Regions from separate parts of the Homo sapiens genome. Here region 1 is linked to region 2. The links are contacts of gene promoters, found by promoter capture Hi-C in blood cells and fetal thymus (Javierre and others, 2016). All regions are on one chromosome and are shown on one strand. Each heading gives the region's core, a stretch centred on a gene start or on the middle of the fragment in contact. The rest is flanking DNA. Distances are from core to core; before and after follow the strand shown. Region 1 overlaps SMARCC2 (SWI/SNF related BAF chromatin remodeling complex subunit C2). Region 2 holds the start of ANKRD52 (ankyrin repeat domain 52).

What was found. The method cuts DNA at HindIII sites, captures the fragments that hold promoters and counts their contacts. A CHiCAGO score of 5 or more calls a contact.
Region 1: a fragment that was not itself captured here is called in contact with the fragment with the promoter of ANKRD52 in region 2 in 2 of 17 cell types (endothelial precursors and erythroblasts); the score reaches 6.8 in endothelial precursors.

Annotation. Positions count from the first base shown.
Region 1 is chr12:56,177,503-56,180,219 of GRCh38, reverse strand. SMARCC2 (SWI/SNF related BAF chromatin remodeling complex subunit C2) reads left to right here. Exons shown (of 29, transcript NM_001330288.2): 12 at 1,164-1,223; 13 at 1,373-1,410; 14 at 1,686-1,816; 15 at 2,127-2,198. Among named protein-coding and RNA genes, the nearest start is that of SMARCC2, 11 kb to the left of the region's middle. The HindIII fragment of the contact is 1,116 bases long and covers 893-2,008 here.
Region 2 is chr12:56,256,956-56,259,655 of GRCh38, reverse strand. ANKRD52 (ankyrin repeat domain 52) reads left to right here and starts at 1,272. Exons shown (of 28, transcript NM_173595.4): 1 at 1,272-1,413; 2 at 1,745-1,828; 3 at 2,295-2,373; 4 at 2,571-2,641. The coding sequence starts at 1,387. RefSeq lists silencers at 1,014-1,073, 1,084-1,633, 1,654-1,723 and enhancers at 1,784-1,833, 1,914-1,963, 2,270-2,700. The HindIII fragment of the contact is 14,479 bases long and covers 1-2,700 here.

The DNA.
Region 1 (2,717 bases), core at 201-2,700, 80 kb after region 2:
GGAGAATGGCGTGAACCTGGGAGGCGGAGCTTGCAGTGAGCTGAGATCACGCCACTGCACTCCAGCCTGGGCAACAGGGCGAGACTCCATCTCAAATAAAAAAAAAGAAAAAAAAATGTATATATGCATTAATTATGTACTTGTACTGTTAAGCCGCTACCATGGGAACGTTTTAAAACACAAACATATCTAAAAAATTGAAAAATGTAAAGAATGATAAAAACAAACATGAAGAATCAGGGCGCGGTGGCTTACGCCTGTAATCCCAGCACTTTGGGAGGCCGAGGCAGGCGGATCACGAGGTCAAGAGATCAAGACCATCCTGGCTAACACGGTGAAACCCCATCTTTACGAAAAATACAAAAATTTGCCAGGCGTGGTGGTGGGCGCCTGTAATCCTAGCTATTCGGGAGGCTGAGGCAGGAGAATCACTTGAATCTGGGAGGTGGAGGTTGCAGTGAGCCGAGATCGCACCACTGCACTCCAGCCTGGGCGACAGAGCGAGACTCCGTCTCAAAAAAACAAAACAAAAAACATGAAGAGAAGTTCTGTATTCTCTCCCTGAGTTGCAGTGGATCATCTTTTGCGTCCTATGTTAGAACCCCACTTTGGAGACATTGCTCCACCAATACTGGTTTACAGTCTGTATTCTGTAGACTCACCCCAGGTATTCCAGAAGTGTATTTCAGGGGTAGGATTAGGGCTGCCACCAAGAAGAGTTCTGGCTTCTACCTCCTCATCAATCAGCTCTCTCTCTTCTCTATGTTTGCTCCTGAGCATATGTATATGAATTCAGTTGAGGAAAGTATCCTCTGCTTTCAAAAATGTTTAACACTTAACCATTCTTCCACAGAGTGATTTGGTCAGATTCAGTATCAGACCATTAAAAGCTTACAGATACATAGATGGAGATAAAGGCCTGTCAAAGACAAGAATCATTTATGAATGTACATAGAGAAATAAGTTAAATTAATTTTTGGTTGGAGAAGTGGGGAAAGTAGCAAGAAGTTTGAAGCCCTAGAATAATTGTGACTGGAGAGAATTACTATATTTTGCAATCAGGTGGAGACAATTTTTGGAGAAAGTAGGATGTCTGGAACTATTAAATTGAAGGCTTGAATTAGGCAAAATCTGTCTGATAAAATGACTCTCTGTTTTCGCAGTCAACACAAAGAAAGACTCAGAGTCGGCCCCAGTCAAAGGCGGCACCATGACCGACCTGGGTAAGACAGGAGCCTCTTGGGCACGGCAGTCAGAGCCAAGGGAAGGGGAGGGCTCAGCTGCCCCCTTTTCGCTAGCCTGATGGGCTTTTGGTAGGGCTTTCTTGCCCCTCAGGAGGCTCCAGCCTTACATCTTGGTTTTTCTCTTTCAGATGAACAGGAAGATGAAAGCATGGAGACGACGGGCAAGGTGGAGCCAGTTTAGAGAGGCCCTACCTCTCTATGTGATTCTGATTTGTGATTATAAAGTTCATTCTGCCCAAACTTTTCACTGCCCAGACTTTACCCACTGTAGACTAATTCCAGCTTTGTTCAAAACTCTGACCCTTTCAGAGTCCTGGGGCCCATGACTGCTCAGTCCCATCACCCATCTTTAGTGTCCACATTCCTGGGGTGTGGGAGAAGCAGAGGGTTGCTAGGGAGGAAGCAGGAATGCTGAGTGTCCAGCAGCCTCCATACTCGTAGGATGAGGATGAGAACAGTACGGGGAACAAGGGAGAGCAGACCAAGAATCCAGACCTGCATGAGGACAATGTGACTGAACAGACCCACCACATCATCATTCCCAGCTACGCTGCCTGGTTTGACTACAATAGGTATGGTTGTCCCCAACTTCTCACTGAGTCCTTATTTCCCTGCCTCCAGGGGTCAACAGGCTGTTCTTCTCCCTGCCTCCTCCAAATAAGTTATTTTTTCCTCACCCAAATAGACCAGAGTACACTTTAGTTTTAGGGGAGCTCCTTGTGTCCTTTTGAGTCTTACAGCCTGTGGGATGTTCTCCCCAAGCTTCTAACTTCAGCAATTTCGAGCTCTTTTCCTTCTTTGCCTTCTAGGCTTTTCCTCCCTTTGGGGCCCCCATCCCTTCACCAATGCCTTCTTCTGAAACCATTCTGGCTTTTCTTGCAGTGTTCATGCCATTGAGCGGAGGGCTCTCCCCGAGTTCTTCAACGGCAAGAACAAGTCCAAGACTCCAGAGATGTAAGGAAATCTCATCTCATGATTCTCCTTCTCCCTCCTGTCCCCACATTCACCCTTCCTGATCCAGTAACATTCAGTTTAGCAAACATTTCTTGAGCATCTTCCATGAGCCAGGCACTATGCTAGGCTTACAAAGGCACAATATCTGCCTTTAGGCAGCCCTGGCCTAGCATGTAGACACATGTTCTTTAGGATTTGCCCAAGGGTGATATTAAGCATGTTCTATACATAACAAGTACCTACTCCAGTGCCTCAACTTCTTTTTAACAGGGTATAGAGCCTTTAAATCCATATTACTGATATCGTCTATACTGCAGATATTCCTAGCACAAAAGTTTTGATTAAAGTGTAAATTACTATTACCAGGCTGGTTCCTGAGAGTAGGTTTTAATAGAAAAACAAGAGAAGGAACTAATAGAAGACCAGTTTATATAAATTAAGGGATGGAGAGGGCTCACTGGGAAAGAAGTGTAGGAGCCACGGTGGCTCACGACTGTAAATCATCCCAGCTACTTGGGA
Region 2 (2,700 bases), core at 23-2,522:
TTTTCGCCGGGTGCGGTGGCTCACGCCGGTAATCCCAGCTCTTTGGGATGCCGTGGCAGGTGGATCACCTGAGGTCAGGAGTTCGAGACCAGCCTGACCAACATGGTGAAACCCCCGTCTCTACTAAAATAAAAAATTAGCCGGGCAGGGTGGCGGGCGCCTGTAGTCTCAGCTACTTGGTAGTCTGAGACAGGATAATCACTGAACCCGGGAGGCGGAGGTTGCAGTGAGCCGAGATCGTGCCACTGCACTCCAGCCTGGGGGACGAGAGTGAAACTCCATCTCAAAAAATAAAATAAAATGTATTTTTATTTTTTAATTTTTTTCCTCTCCCCTCAAGGGAGGATTTTTATATATAAAGCCTTGACAGGACGCCAGCATGCTGCACTTCGTCCATTTCGTGTTCTCTTCAATGTGTATTGAGTTGTGAAACTCTGAACAGGACCCTGGATCACCTTTTATAAATTGTATCAATTTTTCAATCTCCACTTTTCGTCTTCCTCCTTTTTCCGTTTCTGGGTTGAGATGACCTCCATTCATTTCTTCTCTAATTGACGGCTCTCTGGCCTCTCCATTGGAGGAGGGGAAGCGCCACAGGCTGTTCTGGGGAGAAATTGTTGAGTGTTTTCCACTTTAACCTTGCAATGGAATCAGTAAGGAGTTGGAAAATGCCCCTTCTGTTGGTCTTGGCGGCCTTTTCCAGCTGCCAGTTGTCATGGCCTCTTTGTGGGTGTTTTCTGCAGTAGAATCCTCCTTGGGGTTTCTCTGCAGTTTGAGCACTTTTGCTATTTCTTCTCTACCGAACTCACGCCTCCGCCAGTGGAGATACACGCTTTCCCTCCCTCTGGGGCTATTGCCATACATAATTCCCAGTTCTCCACCCGCCAGTTCCTCCTAGTCTGTGGGGGATTTCGGGGTGTGGAATCGCTGACGGGAGGAGTTAGCTCGGGCGGGAGCATTGTGGGCTGGGTAAGATCTGGCCAGCCGTTCGGTCCTCAGTTTGGGAAGCACCGCGGGACTAAGGCCCAGGTTTCCGCTAGGGTCTTGTGGGGAACCCCTTGGGCCGCCAGACTGGAGCGGAGAGCACAGCGCGGCCAGCTGCGTGAGCCGGGGAGCCGGCGCGCGAGTTCGGGGGTGCAGGGGCTGCTGGGGCCGCCAGGGTGGGGCGGAGGGCGCTGCGGCCGGGGTCCGTTTGCGCGGGGAGCGCCGGGACCAGGACGGCCGCCAGGGAGCGCTGCGGCCTCCAACTCGCCCGCCCCCCGGTAGGCGGGGCCGCGCTCTCCCTGCAGCCGCCACCGCAGCCGCCGCCTGGGCCGCTCCGTGTCCCCGGTGGAGCCGCCGCCGCCGCCGCCGGGAGCTCGATGCGGACGGAGCCCGGGCCGAGCCATGGGGATCCTCAGCATCACGGACCAGGTCAGCCCTCCTGCCCTTTCCCGCTTCCTCCTTCCAGGGCTCGGCGCTGCCGTCACGCGAGCCCGGGGATGTGCGGCCTAGGCTGGGCCTGAGCCCGGGGCTCCCGCAGCTCCCGCCCCGCCCCATGCCGCGCTCCCCTCAACCGAGCCGGTGTCCTTGGGGACCTGGCAACCGGCGGAGGCACCGCGGGAGCTCGCTCCAGCCAGAATCCCTAGAGTGGAGCCCCTCCACGGACGCCCCCCACTCAAACCTAGGTGCTCCCCCACCCCCACCCCCACACCGGTTCCGCTCCGGCTCCAGCCCGCTCTCAGAATGCCGGTTCTCTCTGCAGCCGCCCCTGGTCCAGGCCATCTTTAGCCGAGATGTGGAGGAAGTGCGTTCCCTACTCTCGCAGAAGGAGAACATCAATGTGCTGGTGAGTTGGGAGCAGGGAGGATGGCGAGACCGGAATCCTGGCTCCCGTGTTCTGGACCCCTCCCCACCGGTGGGGCGGCTCCGTGTCTCCTCTGCTCAGATGAGGCCGCAGTTCTTTCCATCCTGGAGTGAAAGCCTACTCTGCATTTGGGGATGGAGAGCAGGTCAGGCTTGAAGCCCAGATCACTTGGGCTGGGAATGCCCAGGAACGTTGTTCTCTTCTCAACCTCCGGAGTCTGCAGCGCCCCCACCCCTCCTGGAAAAAGGAGCCGGCTTCTCAGCCCATTGGCCCTGACTCCACCCTCCCTAGGTGCTTGCCTTTGACTCCCAATACCGGGACTTAGGACGCTGCAGAAACTATGGGAAGAGGTTGTGGGGAAGGGCCTGGAGCTCTGAGACTTGGGCTGGGGTCCTTGATAGCCCCCTTACCCCGCGCCCATACTCCCTGCTCTTTTTTGCCTTCCCAGGACCAAGAGAGGCGAACTCCATTGCATGCTGCTGCCTACGTAGGCGATGTCCCCATCCTCCAGTTGCTACTGATGTCAGGTGAAAGTGGGGAGCTGGAAGGTGTGGCACATAGGGAGCGAAGGGAGGGGAGGAGTCTTTTTTGATATTCAAGGATTGCTCTCCCCGGCTTGGTCCAGGCGAGGCTCCAGCTCCATTCAGATTTCCTGGCCTGATTACTGGCTTCCTTCATACCTCCTCCCCACCTTCCATCAAAATAGGAAATTATATCCCCACAGGTGCTAATGTCAATGCTAAGGACACACTGTGGCTGACCCCTCTTCATCGTGCTGCTGCCTCCCGAAACGAGGTATGCACCCCCACCTTCTATTACCCTTTCAAAAAGGATAAGTTGCTTAAAGGTGGGGG